4 separate regions of the Homo sapiens genome follow, and regions 1, 3 and 4 are each linked to region 2. Evidence: promoter capture Hi-C in 16 types of primary human blood cells and fetal thymus (Javierre and others, 2016). All regions are on one chromosome and are shown on one strand. Each heading gives the region's core, a stretch centred on a gene start or on the middle of the fragment in contact. The rest is flanking DNA. Distances are from core to core; before and after follow the strand shown.

Region 1 (5,672 bases), core at 914-3,413, 150 kb after region 2:
TTTCCCAGAAAATCCCCCCACCCGACTCAAGGCACAGATTAGAAAACCTTCCCAGGCCTTGAGTCTCCCCCTGCAGGCGGTGTCCTTACATGGTCTGGGTGCTGCTTCCCGACGTCACCGGGATCCCTGGGTGTTTCTCTCCTTTCCCTGGAAGCCTTTCTTTCACCCACAAGGCACCGGGAAGCCTTTGTGCTACTGTTCCTCCTGCGTGTGTCCTTGATAAAGTACAGAATGGACCAATAAATTTAAACTTATCATAAACAGTGGGCAATTTTTAGCATGGGACAGAATCAAACATTAAAAATCATTTATCTGAAATTCAAATTTAATTGGGCATCCTGTATTTGTGTTTGCCTCATCTGGCAGCCCTACTATGGACACTTCTCTAAATTCCAGACTCAAGTCCAGTCCACAGGTTGTCCACCCTTCTCAGAAGTCCAGGGATAAGGGATATGGACCAATCTCTAAAGAAAAACCTCCATTTCAGGAGGAGTTATGCTACAGGTGCCTGTGACTCCAGGTCTAGATGCTGGCTTTCACCACTTGACAGGGATTCCCTGCAGTGGGAGAGGTTCAGTGGCCTGGGGCTGACTCACGTCTGACAAACCCAGAGTGTGGGTTTCAGGGCCTAGCTAGGCTGTGGCCATGAGGTGATCCTGCACTCTTAAGAGTTCACCCCAGCATAGGATGCATAAGTGTTTCCTGAGGACAAGGTTTGGGACATGCAAGAGGCTGGCACTGGGCCAAGAAGACTCTGAGTCTCAGTGGAGTGACTGCTAGAAACCAGGTTTGGGGAGGAGGAGGAGGAGGAGGAGGACCAGAAGCTGGAGGAAAACCTATTGCTTGCATTGCTGGAGTTACGATCCAATATTCCAGAGGGAGGCCTCAGAAGAAGCCATGAAAACACCCAAGAAAGTCAGCTTGAGACAATGAACTGCCAGGGTGAGAGGGCAGGATGCCAAGCTATGGTCCCCATCCCCACCACATAGACACACACACACAGATGGGTCAGACACCTCCCTGTGCTGCTGAGGAGGAGAGCCCTGTCAGGCAGGGACAGAGGGGACTATGCTCCCCTAGATGGTGCAGAGAGGTCTGGCAGGGGAAGAGAGAAGATTTTAAGTGGAACTCAAATTGGGAGTTTCGATTATTACACTTTTACTTATTGAGTGGAGACTGGGCTTTCAGTGAAAAGTCAGCACGGTAGAACATGTAATCCCCTGACAGTGATCCGAACAGTCGAGGCATTACCTGAGTTCTCATCTCCAGTATAAGGGGAAGAACTCCCCAATTGAGCAGGCTTACAAAAGGCAGTGAGAGACAAGTGCAGTTGGGTCCTGATATTCACAGCAGCATTGTTCACAAGACCTACACATTATATGCAGTTATGAATCTGTTTACCAAACTGCTTACTGTAAGATTAGAAAATATTTGATATAATAAAATGTCTCACATAAATTATGGTGCATAATAAAATGAATACCCCTGAACCCAGCACCCAAATGAACTAGAAAGGTCACTATATTTGACAATACTTTCAAAGCTAAGTGTCTCTTCTCCAATCCCAGCTCCCTAAGGATGTAACCACTATTTTGAGTTAAAAAAATCCATCTGTCTGTCTATCTATCATCTGTCCATCTATCTGTTTGATCCTAAAATGACATGGGTCCCTAGGTGTCCCTGCACATGTTTACCTTGGCTTGCTTTTAAACCTTATGATAAAAGTATCATACAATATATTCTTCTGAATTTTTTTTCCTACTCAACATCGTCTCAAAGATTCACTAAGTTTGATGTTCCTTAATTTTCTCTTCTGTCTAGAATTCTTTTGCGTGACATACCACTTGCCATTTACTCATTCTCTTGTCAAAAGACACTTGAGTTGTTTCTAGTTCTTTGCTAGGGTGAAAGGACATATTTGGTGAAGATGTCCTTGTGAACCTTCCTGGGCTGATTATTGGTGAGCACTTTTCAGAATGCTGAATTATAGAGTGAATGCAAGCTTCCTCAAGCAGTGTGTGAATTCCAGTTGATCAACATCCCTGTCAACATTTAGAGTGGCACAAAGACAAAACTTTGTGCCAATCCAGTGAATGTAAAAAGGTATTTTATTCTATCCATAACATGCATTACCCTAATTAATAATGAACTCAATCTACATTTTATGTTTATGGGCTATTTGTGTTTTTCTATAAAGTTGCCTGCTCATGAGTTTAGCCCATGTGTATTAGTCCATTTTCATACCACTGTGAAGAAATATCCAAGACTGGGTAACTTATAATGAAAAAGGCATATCTTACATGATGGTAGGCAAGAAAGCTTGTGCAAGGGAACTGCCTTTTATAAAACCCTCAGCTCTCATGAGACTTATTCACTATCACAAGAAAATGGGAAAAATCTGCCCCCATGATTCAATTACCTCCCACCAGGTCCCTCCCACAACACATGAGGATTATGGGAGCTACAATTCAAGATGACATTTGGATGCGGACCAATCACAGCAGAACGTGAAGGAGGAGCAAAGGCACATCTTATGTGGTGGTAGGCAAGAGAGGGTGTGCAGGGGCACTGCTCTTTATAAAACCATCAGCTCTCATGAGACTTATTCACTAACACAAGAACATGGGAAAAATCTGCCCCCATGATTCAATTACCTCCCACTGGGTCCCTCCCACAACATGTGGAAATTATGGAAGCTACAATTCAAGATGAGATTTGGGTGGGGACACAGCCAAACCATATCACCATATTTCTATGAATTGTCTATTTGTTTTAAAGAGACTTAAATATAAATTGTGTTTTTAAAAAACCGACTCATAGAAGTTCTTTATATATTCTGGATACAAATTCTTTGCTGGTCAGATGTGCTGCAATTATCTTCTCCCATTTTGTGCCTTGTCTTTTCACTGTCTTTATGGTGCCTTTTGATAAACAAAAAATTTATCAAGATGAATTTATCAATCTTTTTCTTTATGGTTAGCACTTTGTGCCTTAAGACATTTTTCTGTTCTTACTCTCTTATATTTTCCTCTAAAAATTGTAATGGTTTTGCCTTTCATGTTTAAGTCTTTTTTCTTTTTGGTTTTTATTTCTATTAAAATTATGTATGTAACTATTATAAACAGCCAGGGTTCAATGGCTCTGTCATGTGAAACAGCAGCCCCTACATTCCCCAGCACTTCTTTCACAGGCTGTGTGACTCCTGCTCCATTGTCCAGGTCTAGCCTGCCTGCTGTCAGCTGCTGAGGAGGGTGAAGACAAGTCTCCTCCATGCATATACGCACTCCTCCCCTGCTCAGCTTCCCAGTGTGGTTAGATGGCCCTTTGGGCTACTTCACTATTCTGTGTTATTTTAAGCTAAGCTATACAGTAAGCCATGATGACTTATCCTTTCCTGAAGGCTTTTGATTTGTATCTTTTCCCTTAGAACTGATACTTTTCTTTTTGCCGTTGTTCAGTTTTCTGTGTATTTATCACTTATTCAATGCCAAATTCTATCAGATGTCCAAATGTCTCCTCTTAATATTTAGATGACGTGATTTAACGATTAGATCTCCCTGGTCTTTTCCAGCACCTCTGATCTGTCATTTGGATTGTTTATTTTCTGTGTGCCATTCAACAAACTCCACTTTAAAAAAAAAAAAAAAAAAAAGAAGATAGGGGTCTCACTATGTTGAACAGGTTGATCTTGAACTCCAGGCCTCAAACGACTCTCCCACCTCAGCCTCCCAAAGTGCTGGGATTACAGGCATGAGCCACCACATCTGGCCCCCATTCGACAAATTCTTATTGGGCCAACCACGTGCTACATGTTGTGTTAGACTCCAGAGAAACAAGGAGAACAAGATGGTTGTCATTCTTGCCTATGTGGAGCTTACTATCAAATTCAGGGGAAAAAAAACCCCAACAAATTCTGGAGCAATGTTTGCTATTCCTAACTGTTTGACTGGCTCTGAAGCTGATGCCTGCCTGTCATAAGATGGCACCAGTGTGGGGGACTCCTGAGTAAGAGAGGGGTCTTCCCCAGTTTCCTGTGTGGCCAAGGCTCTCTGCCTAAGTTAGGGATGAATACAGAGAAGTCTCTGAAGCACCTTCCACCTTTTCTCAGTTCACCTCTGTCTCATGAAATGAAGACTGTGATAGCCATTTTGTTAAGTCTAGCCCTACCTGTCTCATAGTTCCTTGAGGTTCCTGGACTTAGTGGAGCAATGGTGAGGCCAGACGAACTGTGTGATGAGACACCATCAGGGATCAAAGGAATATGTGAATTTGGCCATGACTTTTTGGGGACAGGCTGGAACATTGAACCCCAAGCCCCATGCAGAAGTCTAGCAAGTTGGGCTGACCTCTCAAGAGGGCTCTATTTTCTCCAGAGTGGAGCCTTGGGTCTCATCTCTGCAACAATCAGACTATCTAAAGTAAAGCCACCAGCATTGGAGGAAACAAATCCAGGATAGAGTAAGACAAGACACACACACCCATAGGCAGAGATTTTACTCCAGTGTCTATGGAGGAGATGGCTTGGGCTACTGAGCATTTTTTGGCCCATCATAGCTCCCTGAAAGGCTGGAGAGGAGCACATAGGGCTACGGCTGCTCAGGCAAAGAAAATTAATAGTCCACATCTATGTTCTCTGTGACTATGATCCCCTTAAAATGTAGCCTAGTCAGGTTTGGAAAATAATGCCCCCATTGCCACCACCCCAGCCTTGGTGGTGGTGGAGTTTCCTTAGATCAGGACTCTCATCTTGGGCAGCTGCAAGAGCCAAGGGCTATGGAGATGAGCCATGAGTGCCCCCTAGAGGCCAATGATGTTAGCTTTAATTTTAATATCATTCCCTTTTCCCCATGCCCACTCCCCACCATCCCCTTTCATGAGTATTTCGTGAGAAACTGGGAAAGGGCTGTAAGCAAGGCTTCAAAACCAGTAAAAATAAGTCTAGCATCAGAGGTAAAATCACCCAGCTCCCAGACTCGTAAAGACATAGACTGTGTCAACAGTTCAGCTTGGCCTCACTTCCTAAGGACTGGCTATATAGACAAGACAGGGCGGGCCCCCAGGGAGTGAAGGAATTTAATGAATTTGAGCAATTAGCCCGTTTTACAGCCTTCTGCCTTGCAGACGGTTTTGTCTCAAACCCTGTGTGAAATGTGGTCACCTAGTCAGTTGGAACCTGCTCCTGACAGACCCCAGCAACTTATAGATGAACTCACTTACAGTGAACTTTCCTCATTACAATGCTAAATCCTGCACCCTGGGAGAGCTATAGTTTCATTACCATAGCATGCGTCCTATGTGGTGGCACGATGACTCCCTCCATCTGTGTCACTGGGACCCCTCCTCTTCATGTGATGATGCACCTTCTCCCCTCTCGATCACTCTATAAAGCCTTCCTGTCATTTTCTCTTAGGAGACACTGCTTTGACGAATATTCCCAGAGCTCTTCCTACTTGTGACAAGTAATAAAACTCCTATTGATCAAAGTCTGTGTTCTCAGCGACTTTTGTTACTCACCAGGCAAACAAACCCCGCTTTTTTTTTGGAGGCAGTGGGGTGGGAGGGCCTGGGAAACAAATCTGGTTGATCCAGATGGGACTATGGACTGAGCCCTGACTCGACCTCCCTTATAGGCTGCTTACAGGCGAAGCAGCAGTCTGAGGAAGCATGAGTGG
Region 2 (5,836 bases), core at 562-3,061:
GACCTCTACCTTAAGAAGAAAATATAAGAGAAACATACCAAATGCTGTGGCTCCTATTAAATAAGGACTTTCCTACAAGAAGGCTGAGACCCTCAAGGAAGCCCAAATCACAACGATGAGAGTACTGGCAGACTAGAAAACATACAACCCCTGTACCATAATTAGGTGGTATAAGGAGTAGAACCACAGTGGACCAACCAAAGGTTCAGTTCAAGTTAATCAAATCCTTTGCCATTAGGGGGCTCCGCCCACAGCACTGTAAAAGTGGGAACAGCATCTTTTATTTTCTATTATTTCTCCTTCCAGATACCCACATACCTCCACCCCAGTACCTGGCAGAGTGCACTCAGTGAACTTTCTTGAGGATTGTTAACTAACTTCAAGGTTGACCATTTTTACTTAATCTGAGAGTAACTGACATTTTCTGTGGTATCCTTTTTCATATTTGAGCACAAGGTGAGTTAGGGGAACTGGTCTGGGAATTAATGCTCATAATTGTAACTCTGCTCACTAAACCACTATAGTCAATCTATAAAATCATTCATTCATCATTATCATGGCAAGAGACTTAAATCTTGAAAACAACCATTTACTCATCTTCATAGACTAAACACTGAATAACAAAAAGGCACGATGGTAACTTGCATTGCAAAAACCCCTGGTGTCCCAAAACTCCAGTAATTCTAGTCTTTCTAGATATAGTTGCTGTTAGAATCAGATTCCAAATTCCAACCAGATATCACCACTATCATCTCCAAAATAAAACTGGGCATTTGACACACATTGCATTACAGCAAACCCTAATCAGTATGCTCTAGAATACACAAACTACAGTAGAATAAATCTTGGAATTCAAGGCCCTGTGGCAACTGGCCCTCCCCAACAGAGATCTTTTGCTTCAGTCAGGATTCCAATCCGCCCAGGCATCCTCACATTTCAGTTTCATTTATCTATCCAGTTTTTCTTTTCTACTACAACTCTTCCCTCAGGGGTAGTCTTCTCTCAGCCAATTCCATCTTTAGGTCTCTTCAATATTCGGGTCACAATTCCTCCACAAACCTTCCCCTCTAAAACACCCTCACTAATAGCACAAAAGCCGTGAGGACTACTAGGGATGCAGAGATAGTCCATCTCTCACGAGGCCTCCTTAGGGACTCAGAAAGCCGCAAGCATATCTAAAACCTCCCCAAGTAATTAGTAAACCTAGTCCACGGCCCATGAAAGTTAACTGAAACAGAGGATGCTTGTTGCATCTCAGTACCTCTTGGGAGAGGTTCTTGTGGGTTAAGAAAGGAACCACCTCCCAAGGCCAGGAAGCGGCGCCGGTTACCACCTGGTTGAGCAATTCCAAAAAGGGGATGCAGCATCTGCAAATGAGGGGGAAAGGCGGCGTAAAGGACCGAGGGGGAAATACGAGGAGGAGAAAGGAAGTAGCAGGAATGAGCGGAGGGGGCGTATACAGTAGGGAGGGCTCTATCGACAACTGCTTGAGGAACCCTTCTTGAAGGCACTCAAGACGAACTTGCCAACCCCAGGCACAATCATCCAGGGTTTTCGGGATCTTTCAAATGCAGTAGGCGGGGAACCGCTGGGCCTGGCTGGTCAGGCGCCAGCCCGCGGAGACAGAAGCCGTCGGGTGCCTCGAGCGAGGCAGGCCGGGCAGGGGACTCGGGGAGAGTAGGCTGCAGGCCCCACACTCACGGCGGCCGATCCCCTTCAAAGTCCAACCACGCTCGGAGGCCCTGCCCCACCACGTTCCCGGGACCCTTCCCCACCTTTCCCCGCGGATGACACCCGGAGGTTCCGGAAACGTCACATCCGGCGCCCGCTCCGCCCACTCCCGTTCGTCTGTCTATTACATTCCCAGTGATTTAGGACTTGGAACGGAGAGCTAGTAGGTGGGGCTAGAATCGGCACCTGCGGAAAATCCGACCAATGAGGAGCGAACGACACAGCGGCCATCTTGGTAAAGGAAAAGGAACAAGGAAGAAAGTGGAACCAATTAGCAAGCTAAGGTTTGCTTTTAAAATTATTTTGATTTGGGGTAGTCCCTCATCACACTCACAATACTCCTGCATTTAAGGAGGGATTGCTGATCCCAGCACAACTGCAGACTTAGCTAAACTAACCAGGATTTATAAATTGGGGGACAGAAAGTCTTTCGAATGTATTTTTTAGCTTGTATTACATTCTACACAAAAATTGGTAGTCTTAGATATTAGGCAATATCTAAGACTAATTTTATTGCTTAGAAAAGAACATAAGTCTAACTTTTTTTTTTTTTAAGACAGGGTCTTGCGGTGTCACCCAGGCTGTCACAGGAGTGCAGTGGTGTGATCATAGCTCACTGTGGTCTCCAACTTCAGGGCTCAAGCGATCTTCTTGCCTCTGCCTCCCAAAGTACTGGGATTACTGGCGTGTGCCACCGCACCCAGATGAGACTAACGTTTTAATGTCAAAAAACCTATAAAATATTTGGAAAAAAAGCGTTTAATCTCTAAGAGCCGCTATGCAAAAGCAGTGGAGACACAAAAATCTGTATGACACTGTTCCTGCCCTGAGACCGGGACAAGGTGGTTTTATGCATCAAATACAGAATGGCACGTTCTGCATGTAGATGTGTGTCTGTACGAATCCATATACATCCTCTTTACAAAAAGGTCCTACAAGCTTGCTAATCATTCTGTCTCAGAAGACTTTGTGAAACATTAGGCTTTGGTTTAAAAGTCTAAGTCTCTGGGGGACACTTTCCCAAAATTTGGGAGCCTCCCTGTGAGTTTGTTAGTGTGATGGCATGACCTATTCTTCAAGGTCTAGCTTAAATCCCTAATTCAGGTGTTGCCTCCTCCACCTAGCCAGCCTCCAGATCTCTCATTTCTCCCAACCTCCGTTGTGTATATTTCTGTTGGAGTTACCTGAAGTGATTTTGTGTAGTCATCAACTTTTCAGACTTAGGGTTGAAAGTACTTGCTTGCATCATATCACCTCCCCTTCTGCCCCCAGCAAGCATTAATGTGCATGGGTCTACTATCAACTCTCATGGATCTACTGCAGATAAATCTGGGAAGATAATTGTATAGGGCACTCTACTGTGTCTTCAAAACTCTCTCTACTGACTCTCTTCAGAATGTAAACATGATGGGTTGGGCCTAAAGAAATTGATGCACTGGAGATGCTGGTCATTGGGTGGGCATTATAGTGCAGATGGGGTCCTGGCAGGAGGCAACACAGGTCAAAATCTGATCCATTCAACCTCTCACTCAGTAAATGTTTACTGAGTGTCTACTATGTGCCAGGTTCTGTTCTAGGTGTTAGGGATACATCAGCAAACAAACCCAGCAGGTGGATACTCTAATGGTGGAAGCACAGGTAGAAGTACAGCTGGTGGGGTAGGGAGGGGCATCTGCTCCCATTCAGCACAATCTCTAAAGTAGTTCTTTTTTTTATAATGTTTAGCTTAACAAGTAAAGAAAATTTACAAACATCCTAGATTTTAAGATTATGATGAGAAGACTTTAAGAAGCTATAACTGAGACACACATATAAGGGGTGTGCATAGTCGTAAACATAGCTAGCGCCACATAGAGGCTGTTCCTGATATTAGAAAGTTAATATGCCCAGTTGCTAGCAGTTCTTAAGGTAATAGCTAAGTGAATATAGGAAGCAGGATCTAGTCTTTTTAGGGAGAGAATTTGTAAATGTTGACCAGAGTTTTTGATATCTGGGGCAAAGTTCAATACTCAGCTTTCTAGGGACCTGAAATAAGAAAATCTTGGCCAAGGTAAAAATTTTACATTCCTCATTTCTTGTTTAACTGGAAAAGTTTAAAAACTAAACAATTTTGTATACACAATCAGGAAATCAAAGCTATAAAAGATTCTTGGCATAACTGATGAGAATATCCTACCTACCCCTGCCCTAAAGATTGGAGGCTAAGCGTGGAAGGTATTCCTTCAGCAAATAGGCTTCAGCAGTTCACCTGGCAGACTAGACCAGGTTAGGAATTGAGATGCTCTTTCCTTCCGGTGCTCACTCCCAGCCATGAACACTTTTCCTGAATATAGCAGCCTCCATCTGGCCGCTTGCATATGCCAACGTCAGGTCTCCTGCACTCCTGCATGCTCATTCCTACTTGCTCATTTTTGGGCAGCAGCAAAAGATGCCTAGAAGGTGAAGTTCTTAATCTGAAATGTAACATCGGGGTTTAGAAAACACAGGCCTGGACCAGGTGCGCTGGCTCACGCCTGTAATCCCAGCACTTTGGAAGGCTGAGACAGGAGGATCGCTTGAGCCCAGGAGTTCGAGGATATAGTGAGCTATGATTACACCACTGCTCTCCAGCCTGGGCAACAGAGTGAGACCTCTAAAAAAACAAAACAAAACAAAACAAACAAAAAACCCAGGAGGATCACTTGAGCCCAGGAGTTTAAGGCTGTGGTGTGCTATGATCTCACCTGTGAATAGCCACTGCATTCCAGCCTGGGCAACATAGTGAGACTCCTATTGCTAAAAAGCAAAAAGAAGAAAAGGAAAAATACAGACCCAGCGGAGTTCGGGGGTCAGGGAGGGTAAAAACAAGGAAGACTCTAGGTGTATTTCACTTGCAAGGTTGGTACTCTTGTGTTAAGTGACATACCTAGAGGGACAATTGCATTAGTACAGGAAGGGCGTTCATTCTTACCTACTACAATGCATTCTTACAACAGCAGCTAATTTTTTTTTTTTTTGAGATGAAGTCTTGCTCTGTCACCCAGGCTGGAGTGCAGTGGCACAATCTCGGCTGCAACCTCCACCTCCCAGGTTCAAGCAATTCTCCCTGCCTCAACCTCCTGAGTAGCTGGGATTATAGGTGCTCGCCACCAAACTTGGCTAATTTTTGTATTTTTTAGTAGAGACAGGGTTTTGCCATGTTGGCCACGCTGGTCTTGAACTCCTGACCTCAAGTGATCCACCCACCTCAGCCTCCCAAAGTGCTGGGATTACAGGTGTGAGCCATCACGCCTGGCCACTAATGATCTTTTTAAAGCAAAAATCAGATTCCATCACTCCTCGGCTTAAAACTCTTCAGTGAATTCCCATGGCACTTGGAATAAACATCCACACTCCTTACTGGGGATTACAGAGTGACTCGGCCCCTGTTGCCTTTCTGACTTCATCTCCCAATCTCCTTGCTTAATACTCTCCACCGACACCATCCAAACATCTGCTTTTCCACTCAAGACCTTTGCATAGCTGACTCCTTTTCCTGGGATGCTTTTACCCTCATCTTCACTTGGCTGGCTCTGCCTCATCATTCATTTCTCAGTTTACATGTTACCTCCTCAAGGAGAACTTCTCTGACCACCCATTCTAAGGAGCCACCCAGTCATCCTTCATTAGTTGGTCTTATTTTAATTGTCTTGATAATCCTTACCACTGTCTGATATGATTTGGGTTGCTTATTGTCTTTCATTCCCCACTAGAATATAATTTCCAGAAAGTTAAGATCCTTTTCTGCCTTGCTCACAGCTCTATCCCCACTGCCTAGAATGGCTTGCGAAACCAGATGTGACACTCAATGAACATTGTTGAATGTTCAAATGTTGTTGAGATAAATATTGTCTCACTGTCCCCAAAATGATTTACAGGAATGTAATTAGCCAATTATGCTGATTACTGAGATGAACAATGAAAAACAATGACCGTTATGCTTTTGGGACCCACTCTTCTCTGCAAGGCACTTAGAGCTAGAAGCAGAAAGCCTAAAGGCTAGATGCCTTTATTAATTGAGCAAGTGTTTATTGAATATCTTTCAAGCTCATGGGTCTGTGTCTGGCATGGGTCTACCACAGTGAAA
Region 3 (5,872 bases), core at 2,881-5,380, 190 kb before region 2:
TTACTAAAAACTTTGAAAACATGAATTAAAGAACAATTTTCTAGGAAAACATATTCAAGAAGTCATAGAAATACTGATAATATCAATCACCAGAGCCACTGGGAGCCACTGTCTGGAAGTCACCAACCAGATGTGGCCAAGCTAGGCTCAGTCCCACAGCCTAAAGTCTCTGGATTAAGGTGCAGAAAAACTCTGAGTTCCAAAATGCTCCTGAAAATCATAACTAAACTGTGCGCTGTGGCTCACACCTGTAATCTCAGCACTTTGGGAGGCCGAGGGAGGACGATCACTTGAGTCCAGGAGTTTAAGACCAGCTCAGGCAACACAGTGAGACCCCATCATTACGAAAAATAGAAAAATTAGCTGGGTGTGATGGCGCACACCTGTAGTCCCAGCTACTCAGGAGGCTGAGGCAGGAGGAGTGATTGTGCCCAGGAGGTGGAGGCTGCAGTGAGCCATGATCGCAGCACCGCTGCACTCCAGCCTACGTGACACAGCAAGACCTTGTCTCGAAATTAAATAAAAATAAAAATAAATCAAACTACATATCTGAAAATTAATTAATATCAATGCTGATGAGGTACCTCTGATGGTCACCCAGGTTTGGAAACTCCTGGCCCCTTGCTACTCAAAAATGTGGTCCAAGGAACAGCAGCATCAACATGACCTCAGAGGTTAAAAAATGCAGAATAAGGCCGTGCGCAGTGGCTCACGTTTGTAATCCCAGCACTTTGGGAGGCAGAGGTCAACAGATCACTTGAGGTCAGGAGTTCAAGACCAGCCTGGTCAATTTGGTGAAACCCCATCTCCACAAAAAATACAAAAATTAGCCAGGCGTGATGGCGAGTGCCTGTAGTCCCAGCTACTTGGGAGGCTGAGGCATGAGAATCGCTTGAACTGGGAGGTGGAGGTTGCGGTGAGCCAAGATCATGCCACTGCACTCCAGCCTAGGCGACAGAGCAAGACTCTTATCTCAAAAAAATAAAAAAAATAAAAAGCAGACTCTCAGCCTCATCTCAGACTCACTGAATTTGAAAATGCATTGTAGTAAGAATCCCAGGTTATCTGGATGAAGAAGATAAAGTGGAGAAGCACTGGTCTGGCCTATACCTGCCTAATTGCCCCTCAATTCCTCTTAATTTGCAAAAGCAGTGCCTGTTCTGTGTTCTGTCTGGCACAACCAAAAGAAAAAAAAATAATAAACCGATTAACTACTGGAGCTAGATTTGATCACACAAGCATGTAAAAAAAAAAAAGTTTGGCAAAAAACAAAACAAACAAAAAAAAACCCTCCAGCCGGGGCAACAGAGTGAGACTCTGTCTCAAGAAACAAAAAAACAAAAAACAAACAAAAAACCCCCCAAACATACATTAAAAGAAATTTGCAATACTTGCCAAAGCATGATAAAGAGTTAATACCACTAATACATGAAGCTGTCTTACCATTCATAAAAAAAGCATACACAAAAAATAAAGGAAATAAAAATATATTCACAAAGAAAAAAGATCACAACTAAACATAGCAAGGAAAGATTTGCAAATCAAACATTTTGCACTCATTTTTATGCCAATCAGAAAAGAAATAGTTTTACAATAAACATGTATTATTTTGACAATCCCAGAGGGAAAAGACCAGAAACATTTAAAATGGAAAAAAAAAAAAAAAAAAAAAAAGTGTCCTAGAAAGACTGAAATAGTAACAGGAGTTCTCTCTGAGTAGAAAAATTATGGACTTTTTTATTTTTCTCTATCTGCTTATCTGAACTTTCTGATTTTTCTACAGTGAATTTTTATTCTTTGTAATAGACAATGGCAAAAAAAAGTTTTAACTATTTCCTAGAGTTTGATCATATCTGAAATGTCTTCCTGTGTTTTCACAAGTGTTTGCATAGCACCTGGCCTTTTCACAAACCATCATGGCATTTAAAGGCATATCTTTTCAGTCCTGATCAAGTACTGGAAGCCCCAAACAGGCAGCCTCTTTTGTTAACATTAGTTCACAGGCCAGCAGTTCTCAAACTCCATTGGGCGTGGGAATCACCTGTAGGAAGCTGGTTATGGATGCAGATTCCCAGGTCCCACCAGAGATCAACGCTGCCTGACCATGGAAGGGATTCTGACCCAGGTGGCCCCTGAACGACCTTTTGAGAACCCCTTCCCATAATCCTATGGGGTTGAGGGTGAGTGCAGATGAGGGGAAGGCCTCGGCTGGTTCAGAAACCAGGTGAACTGAGGTTCTTACAGGCTGACCAGGGACAGTAGTCTCTTCCCACCTCCCATATGCACATGCAGGCCTGGCCATTCAGTGGTCAGTGCTGATGCTCTCTGAAACGCCAAAACATGGATGGAGGTGGCAGTGTAGAAACAGACTTTGTCCAACGGGTGGGCTAAAGCCCTAGGCAGCCCTGCATCGTGGCCTCACTGCCAGAATGCGCTCTGCTCTGTAAGGAGGCATCTGGAACAGCTCCATCGGTTCATGGAGGTCCATCTGTCAGAGTCTCTGCTCAGCACCCTGAGAAAGCAGCTCCTCCAGAGCTGGCAGAGATGCAGCTGTGGATGCAGCTGGGGCCTCATGGGGAGCCTCAGGGCCACCTGGCTGGGGAGACTCAGAGGCCCCAGGTGGGCACTGGGAGATGAAGTAAGAAACCAACAGCAGGGGATAGGGGCAGATAGAGCAATACTTCCAGATCTTTTCCCCAATCCAGTATTTCTTGAGTGTCCTCTTGGTTCCAATGTTTCCCAGGGATTAAAACAAACCAGCAGAGGAGCCAGAGAAGCATTTCTATGTCCTCTGCCACCCTGAGCATGGGAGATGAGTGAGTGGGAAGGGGAGGGTGAGCACAGACCACGGGATAAATGAGGAACAGCTTACTGCTGCGGTCAAGCAAAACCCAGGGAAACCCCGGGACACGCTGAACCAGATGCACAACTGCTAGAGAGGGATTAGAAATCAGCTCACGTCCTCACTCCCACCTTCTTTTTATGCATGTTGAGAGGCAGAAATCCTGACCCCTGCTTAACAACAGCAGGGATTCCCTTCTCTCCAAGGGCATAGCCCTCAAGCCCTTGAACAAGAGGTGGGAGTTCCCTTGTTCCTGGGTCCCTCCAAGGCAGGTAGACATCACCATCCTTGCTCCAGGGGCAGCAGAGACCAGTGGGGGCAGGGACCTGAGAGTCTGGAACCACTGCCAAGGGTACAGAGTGAATTGGCATGCCCCAGACAGCTCCATCAAGGAATAGTGCCTGCCATTCCCCAATTACAAACAAAAGCTTACATATAAAATGCAAACACCAAGCCTGGGCACTGTGGCTCATGCCTGTAATCCCAACACTTTGGGCAGGCAGACCACTTATGCCCCAGAAATCAAGACCAGCCTGGGCAATATGGTGAAACCCCATCTCTAAAAAAATACAAAGAATAGCTGGGTGTGGTGGTATGCACCTGTAGTCCCAACTACTAGGGAGGCTGAGGTGGGAGGATCACTTGAACCCAGAGGCAGAGATTGCAGTAAGCTAAGATCATGCCACTGCATTCCAGGTTTGGTGACAGAGTGAGACTCTGTCTCAAGGGAAAAACAAATGCAAACGCTATGGTAAAGATTAGCACACGGATAGGAATAAACTTCACGTAGGACATACTGGGTTGGGGGGATGCATATACTCTGGAGGAGAATAGTAGAAGAAAAAAGAAAGGCACTACCATATGAGAGAAGGTGACTGGGCACATAGGTGTGAACCCATCTCACAATGTTCTGTACAAGCTCTGCTTCCAGCCTTGATGAGTCCTCATCCCCTAAGGGAAGCTGCAGATAAGTTTGTTTGTGCTACCTTGAAATGATTGGAAGCTAAGAAAGCAGTTCTCCCAACTAGTTAGCACTAATGAGGGCTAACAACAAGGGGGCTGTGGGTCTCAGGATAATAATGAGATAGAGGCTCAGAGGGCTCCTCCCTGATGTCTGCACGTGGAAAAATGGCCCAGGACCTCCTTTTTCCTGCGGGGACAAGGAGGGTGCCCAATCTGTTATCCAGATCACAGCCTGCAGGGCCTGGAGCCAGGGCTGCTTGAGATTCTGCTGCTCACATTGGCCCAGGCTGTCACACTTTGAAGAGGTGAAGCTCACTGTCCCTCTCATCAATCTGATGCCACGGCGTTTATTAAAAGGATTTACCGCATGCTAGGCTTTGTGCCAGGTACTGGTGACATGAAATGGAGTGAGATGAGCACCCCACCACTGGGAACTCACACTCAGGCACACAGTATTGCCACGGAGGTACAGACAATATACCATGAGGACTTGAGGGAGAAAGGGACAGAAGTGTCAGAAGAGGCAGCACAGAGCAGCTGCATTTCTAATATGCGGGCAAAGATGGGATACAAAGTATAACAGAAAAGATCCCATTCCCAACAGCAACAACAGCAGCTACAGCATATCTAGGAAGAAACTTCACAAGAAATGTGTAAGAAGAAAACCTTAAAACGTTTCATTTATTTTGTTTGTTTGGTTTTTATTAGAGACAGAGTCTCCTTCTGTCGCCCAGACTGGAGTGCAGTGGCCAGATCATAGCTCACCGCAGCCTCCAACTCCTGGGCTACAGCGATCCTCCCACATCTGCCTCCCAAGTAGCTGGGACTACAGGCATGCGCCACCACACCCAGCTAGTTTTTATTTTTTGTAGAGATGAGGGTTGGCGGGGGGTCTCACTATGTTACCCTGGCTGATCTCAAACTCCTGGCTTCAGGCAGTCTTCCCGCCTCAGCCTCCCAAAGCACTGGCATTATGGGGCATGAGCCACCACACCTGGCCTTAAAACTTTGATGAACACACAAAAAAGACTAGAATAAACGGAAAGGTCTACTTCCCTTTCTCTGGATAGGAAGATTCATTGTAAAGCTATCTATTCTCCCCAAAATAACCTGTACGTTTCATGTGATTCCAACTGAAAAATCCCAGTATTTTTCGCAGAACATGGTAAGTTGTTTATAAGCTTATTTGGAGAAAGAAATGCCAAAAAAAAAAAAAAAAGTAAGAAGTATGTTTTAAACCAAAGTATTATATAAAAATGGTGGTAATTAAAACAATGAAATACACAGAATCAGACAAATAAGTCAATGGAAGTAAAAAGAGGCCTTAAAACACCCATGACTGTAAGAGTACTTATGAAATGCTTAAGGTAGAATTCATACACTACAAGGGAAACTACAAATACCCAATAAATAGATTGGGGATAACAGGCTTTCTATTTAGGAAAAGTTCAATCCCTATCTTATATCGCATGCAAAAATAAATCTCACCTTAGAAATCTGAACATCTAAAATAAAACTTAAGTAAGAAAAGCCAAAATACTGATGAATTCTCGTTGTATAAAAATCAAATTTTTATGATAGACACAATGAAAGACAAACAGGCCAAAATTTTTTTCAAAACGTAACAGAAGTTAGTATCAAAACCCTCATAACGATGAAAGCTATACTATGTTTTCTCACTTAAGATGACAGAAGAAGGCCAGGCACGGTGGCTCACACCTGTAATCCCAGCACTCTGGGAGGCCAAGGCAGGCCGATCACTTGAGGGCGCGAGTTCGAAAACAGCCTGACAAACATGGAGAAGCCCCGTCTCTACTAAAAATACAAAATTAGTCGGGCACGGTGGCACATGCCTGTAATCCCAGCTACTCGGGAGGCTGAGGCAGGAGAATTGCTTGAATCCGGGAGGAGGAGGTTGCAGTGAGCCGAGATTGTGCTACTGCACTGCAGCCTGGGCGACAAGAGCAAAACTCCGTCTCAAAAAAAAAAAAAAAAAAAAAAAGAGACAGAAGAGGTTTCATCTTATCCCAGTTAAAAAGGCTGTTAAGAAAAAGACAAAAAATAAAT
Region 4 (5,906 bases), core at 1,217-3,716, 230 kb before region 2:
ACTTCTATAAGTCTATTTTACAAAAACTCATATAAGTGGAATCATGCAGCATTTGTCCTTCTGTGACTGAATTATTGAGCATCTTTCAGGTTTTGTAAGGTATTAAACGTAAAAAAAGGATGGACAGAATTAGAATATCATCAGTTTGCAATCCCTAATGAAAAATTAACTTACACAAGGATCATCAGTAGACATGATATGACTAAAGATTGATGGGGAACTGGATAATCACATGGTGGTGAAGTATTGCCTGACAAATTATTTGCTGGACACAAAGGGGAAAACATAACTTTATAATGGCAAGACCTGGCTCTTGCTCTTACCACCTTAACCTAGTGACACCTGGGCTTCACCAACGGTGGGACAATTAGACTTCTCAAAGTGATCTTACATGAGAAGCCTGGCATACTCCATTAAAAAAAAAAAAAGTTTCAGGCCAGGCATGGTGGCTCAGGCCTGTAATCCCAACACTTTGGGAAGCTGAGGTGGGTAGATCACTTGAGGTCAGGAGTTAGAGACCAGCCTGGTCAACATGGTGAAACCTCATCTCTGCTAAAAATACAAAAATTAGCCAGGCGTGGTGGTGCACGCCTGTAACCCCAGCTACTCGGGAGTCTGAGGCAGGAGTATGGCTTGAACCCAGGAGGCGGAAGTTGCAATGAGACGAGATCGCGCCACTGCACTCCAGCCTGGGTGACAGAGTGATACTCTGTCTCAAAAAAAAAAAAAAAAAAAAGTTTCACCTGAACTTAACCAAGTATTTAGATCCTTCAGCATACGGTTCTCTTTTTTCTCACAGTGAAACAAGGTTTACTAACCTTCTTGGTGCTGTTTAATGCTATTCAATCTTAAATTCAATCTTTACCCTACTTACATTCATTGTTATAACATATATTTCCGGCATTTTATGTTTTCCATGTTTAGTGCTTCCTTGTCTTCCTCGTTTGCTGCAGATTTTGTATTTTCTATTTCCCCCATCAGCACCATCCCTGGTAATCTGGAAAATCTATAGTATGTTTTTAAAAATGCTAACGGTACTTCTAAAGAGAAAAGTTAGCACCTCTATAATTTCTCCCACCTCCTCCTTTACTTCTGCTTTTCACTGGTATCCTCAGGAACATATTTCCCTCTGCTACATGTTAAGATGTTTAACATAAAAATATATCTTAAGTAGAGTTTAAGTAAATATCTTTTGTTTTAGAAAAATAACTGTCATTTAAAGTTAGACTTTACATTTGAACAGATTTAGTGTTCATCGCCAGCCTCTCCATACTACAACTTCCCCATCTATTATTATTTTGATTCATCTCTAGAAAATTTGAGTTCTTGCATATTTAAAAATGTTTTTATGGATTTTTTTTGGTGGAGACGGGGTTTCGCTGTGTTGGCCGGGCTGGTCTCCAGCTCCTAACCGCGAGTGATCCGCCAGCCTCGGCCTCCCGAGGTGCCGGGATTGCAGACGGAGTCTGGTTCACTCAGTGCTCAATGGTGCCCAGGCTGGAGTGCAGTGGCGTGCTCTCGGCTCGCTACAACCTCCACCTCCCAGCCACCTGCCTTGGCCTCCCAAAGTGCCGAGACTGCAGCCTCTGCCCGGCCGCCACCCCGTCTGGGAAGTGAGGAGCGTCTCTGCCTGGTCGCCCATTGTCTGGGACGTGAGGAGCCCCTCTGCCTGGCTGCCCAGTCTGGAAAGTGAGGAGCATCTCTGCCCGGCCGCCATCCCATCTAGGAAGTGAGGAGCGCCTCTTCCCGGCCGCCATCCCATGTAGGAAGTGAGGAGCGTCTCTGCCCGGCCGCCCATCGTCTGAGATGTGAGGAGCGCCTCTACCCGGCCGCGACCCCGTCTGGGAGGTGAGGAGCGTCTCTGCCCGGCCGCCCCGTCTGAGAAGTGAGGAGCCCCTCCGCCCGGCAGCTGCCCCGTCTGAGAAGTGAGGAGCCCCTCCGCCCGGCAGCCACCCCGTCTGGGAAGTGAGGAGCGTCTCTGCCTGACAGCCACCCCGTCTGGGAGGGAGGTGGGGGGGGTCAGCCCCCCGCCCGGCCAGCCGCCCCGTCCGGGAGGTGAGGGGCGCCTCTGCCCGGCCGCCCCTACTGGGAAGTGAGGAGCCCCTCTGCCCAGCCAGCCGCCCCGTCCGGGAAGGAGGTGGGGGGGTCAGTCCCCCGCCCTGCCAGCCGCCCCGTCCGGGAGGGAGGTGGGGGGGTCAGCCCCCCGCCCTGCCAGCCGCCCCGTCCGGGAGGGAGGTGGGGGGGTCAGCCCCCCACCCGGCCAGCCGCCCCGTCCGGGAGGTGAGGGGCGCCTCTGCCCGGCCGCCCCTACTGGGAAGTGAGGAGCCCCTCTGCCTGGCCAGCCGCCCCATCCGGGAGGGAAGTGGGGGGGTCAGCCCCCCGCCCGGCCAGCCACCCCGTCCGGGAGGGAGGTGGGGGGGTCAGCCCCCCGCCCGGCCGGCCGCCCCGTCCGGGAGGGAAGTGGGGGGGGTCAGCCCCCCGCCCGGCCGGCCGCCCCGTCCGGTAGGTGAGGGGCGCCTCTGCCCGGCCGCCCCTACTGGGAAGTGAGGAGCCCCTCTGCCCGGCCACCACCCCGTCTGGGAGGTGTGCCCAACAGCTCATTGAGAACGGGCCATGATGACAGTGGCGGTTTTGTGGAATAGAAAGGGGGGAAAGGTGGGGAAAAGATTGAGAAATCGGATGGTTGCTGTGTCTGTGTAGAAAGAGGTAGACATGGGAGACTTTTCACTTTGTTCTGTACTAAGAAAAATACTTATCCTGTTGATCTGTGACCTTACCCCCAACCCTGTGCTCTCTGAAACATGTGCTATGTCCACTCAGGGTTAAATGGATTAAGGGCGGTGCAAGATGTGCTTTGTTAAACAGATGCTTGAAGGCAGCATGCTCGCTAAGAGTCATCACCACTCCCTAATCTCAAGTACCCAGGGACACAAACACTGCGGAAGGCCGCAGGGTCCTCTGCCTAGGAAAACCAGAGACCTTTGTTCACTTGTTTATCTGCTGACCTTCCCTCCACTATTGTCCTATGACCCTGCCAAATCCCCCTCTGCGAGAAACACCCAAGAATGATCAATAAAAAAAAATAATAATAAATTTAAAAAAAAATGTTTTTATGAAGACTTTACATATGGATGGTGACTTAAGTAAGTCGAACTTGGATCAAACTTTTTAATCTCAATACTCTACTCTGAGAACTGCAATACACGTATCCAGCTAAGAACCCATATATCCAAAATAAAGAACCCTTACCACTCAATAAGAAAAACAATACAGAAATGGGCTTGAACAGCAACTTGAATGACTTGAACCGGAACTTGAACAGAAATGACTTGAACAGGAACTCCACAAAAGACGGCATATGAAAAACTGCTCACCCTCATTAGGCATCAGGGAAATTCAAATTAAACCCACAGTGAGATACTATTATACATCTACCACAATGGCAAAGACTGGATGGCACCATTTGCTGGTGAGAACGTGGAGCAATGCTGGTGGGAGCTTAAACTGTAACAACCACTTTGAAAGACCAATGGTACCTACTAAAGCTCAACACACACAATTTCAGTCCTAGGTAAATACCTAAGTATACACATGTATACATAAATGCACCAAGAGACAGGTATAAGAATGTCTTATATCAGCATGATTCATAATAACCCCAAGTTGGAAACAACCCAAAAGACCATCAGTGACCTACTGGATACACTGTGGTGTATTCAAAAAATGGAATGCTGTACAGCTATGAGAATGAACGACGGGGCAGATAACAAATGTACATACATACAGATAACACAGGGCCAGGCATGGTGGCTCACACCTGCAATCCCAGCATGCTGAGAGGCCAAGGTGGGAGACTAGCCTGGGCAACAAAGAGAGACCTTGTCTCTAAAAAAAAATTTACAAATTAGCCAGGCACAGTGGCATGTGCCTGTAGTCCCAGCTACTTGGGAGGTGTGGGGATCACTTGAGCCAAGGAGTTCATGGTTGCAGTGAGCTATGATCACATCACTGTACTCTGGCCTGGACAACAGTGATATCCTGTCTCTCTAAAAATAAATAAATAGGTCAGGCATGGTGGCTCACACCTGTAATCCTAGCACTTTGGGAGGCCAAGGCAGGCAGATCACCTCAGGTCAGGAGTTCCAGACCAGCCTGGCCAACCTGGCGAAACCCTGTCTCTACTAAAAAAATACAAAAGTTAGCCAGGTGTGGTGGCGCATGCCTGTAGTCCCAGCTACTCTGGAGTCTGAGCCAGGAGAATCACCTGAACCGGGGAGGCGAAGGTTGCAGTAAGCCGATATTGCATCACTATGTTCCAGCCTGGTCAACACAGCGAGACTCCGTCTCAAAAAAATAAATAAAAATTAAATAAATAAAATAAAAACACAATATAGATGAATCTCACAAACACATCATTGAGCAAAAGCCAAAATATGAAAGAGCATATGATACATATTCATGATTCCATTGTATGAAGTTCAAGAACAGGCAAAACTGATCAGTGTGGTAAGAAGTTAGAATAGAATAGTTACCTTAGGACAGGGGTCAGCAAACTTACTCTGTTAAGCACCAGACAGCACACATCTTAGGCTCTGCAATCTCAGGGGCAACTACTCAACTGTGCTGCTGTAGTGCAAAAGTGGCTATAGACAACGGATCAACAAATGAGCCTGGTCATGTTTTCATAAAACTTTACAGACTCTGATATTTTCATGAGTCGTGAAATGTTATTCTTCAACTGACTTTTTTTTTCAACCATTTAAAAACATAAAAACCCCTTTTATACATGAGTGTGGGCCAGGTTTGGTCTGCAGGCTGCCAGCCTATGCTTTAGGGGATTGGGTGCCACGTGCCTGGAGGGGTGGACTTCGGAGGCTTCTGAGATGCTGGTAAAATTCTGTTCTGCTGTTTACATGAGTGTGTCTTTTATAAAACTGTATTGAGCTGTACACTTGTGATTTACATATCTTCCTGTATGTGTATTTCAATACAAAATGTTTTTTGAAAGTGCTTTTAAAAAAGAAAAAAATTTAAAAATTAAAAAAAATTTGTCTACAAAAACCTAATATAGGTGACCAACTTTTTTTTTTTTTAAACTTGTAGGTGATTCTTCACCCTTGAAATTTAATAAGTTAATCGGCATTGTTATTTGTCAAATTTCCCTCATTTTCCCTGGGACATGATAACTTATAACACCTTTTCACTTCAAAAATGTTTTCTATTCCACCTTTGACTCTCACGTTTGTTCAGTTTGCTCCACACTGTTCGCCGAGAACACCGAGTGTTCCCAAGATTCCCACCAGAATGAATCTGTGTGTGGGGTCCCTACTGTCCCTCTCTTCTGCTTCCCTCGCTGTCTGCCACAGTGATACTGTTCATTTCTACATTTTCCCGTTTTGGGGTGAACTTTCAAGACCATGCCTCTTCCTCACCGATCTGCTTTTTCTGTTAACTCTGATTCTGCTTTTTGTAGCTTCTCAATGCACTTTTTATGTGCTTTGTAATGGCATGCTTCTTCTGGAATTTAATCCATAACTCTCACAACTTCTTTATAACTTAGCACCTCATCTTTCATTTTTTATTTGATAGCGACTGTTTTCTTCAACTTCCCTGAAGATATAAATCAGCGGTTTAAACAATTCCTGTATTTTCTCATGTAAATTTTCTTTTTTTAGCTTAAGTATTTGTTTGCAACTAAGCTTGTTAACACTAATGAAAATGTACAAAGAATTATAAATTTTCTTATTAAATGTTATATTAATCCCTCCACTTTTCCTACAGAATTTGAATGGCTACCATGTTGATTTTGTTTATTTGTTAATCAATCTTCTCACAGGAGAAGCTGATCTCTAGTTTCTCCCCCTTGACAGAACTGACATTTTGGATCAACTAGCTCCTTACTGTAG

What was found. Contacts are between HindIII fragments. The CHiCAGO score rates a contact against its expected background, and 5 or more counts as called.
Region 1: a fragment that was not itself captured here is called in contact with the fragment with the promoter of STAMBP in region 2 in 1 of 17 cell types (megakaryocytes); the score reaches 6.3 in megakaryocytes.
Region 3: a contact is called between a fragment that was not itself captured here and the fragment with the promoter of STAMBP in region 2, in 6 of 17 cell types (M1 macrophages, M0 macrophages, monocytes and 3 more). The highest score is 8.1, in M1 macrophages.
Region 4: a contact is called between a fragment that was not itself captured here and the fragment with the promoter of STAMBP in region 2, in 15 of 17 cell types (monocytes, M1 macrophages, M2 macrophages and 12 more). The highest score is 10.9, in monocytes.

What each region holds. Positions count from the first base shown.
Region 1 is chr2:73,679,504-73,685,175 of GRCh38, reverse strand. It overlaps the pseudogene ALMS1P1. Among named protein-coding and RNA genes, the nearest start is that of NAT8, 40 kb to the right of the region's middle. The HindIII fragment of the contact is 317 bases long and covers 2,005-2,321 here.
Region 2 is chr2:73,824,936-73,830,771 of GRCh38, reverse strand. It overlaps STAMBP (STAM binding protein), which reads right to left and starts at 1,811. Exons shown (of 10, transcript NM_213622.4): 1 at 1,262-1,811. LOC105374807 (a long non-coding RNA gene) reads left to right here and starts at 374. Exons shown (of 3, transcript XR_940246.3): 1 at 374-456; 2 at 1,868-2,015. RefSeq lists an enhancer at 1-314 and a silencer at 1,822-2,040. The HindIII fragment of the contact is 5,447 bases long and covers 1-2,672 here.
Region 3 is chr2:74,017,897-74,023,768 of GRCh38, reverse strand. All of the region lies in intron 3 of TET3 (tet methylcytosine dioxygenase 3), which reads right to left. Among named protein-coding and RNA genes, the nearest start is that of TET3, 36 kb to the right of the region's middle. RefSeq lists enhancers at 1,948-2,447, 2,399-2,448 and a silencer at 2,629-2,708. The HindIII fragment of the contact is 1,716 bases long and covers 3,273-4,988 here.
Region 4 is chr2:74,057,712-74,063,617 of GRCh38, reverse strand. All of the region lies in intron 4 of TET3 (tet methylcytosine dioxygenase 3), which reads right to left. Among named protein-coding and RNA genes, the nearest start is that of TET3, 76 kb to the right of the region's middle. The HindIII fragment of the contact is 6,470 bases long and covers 1-5,701 here.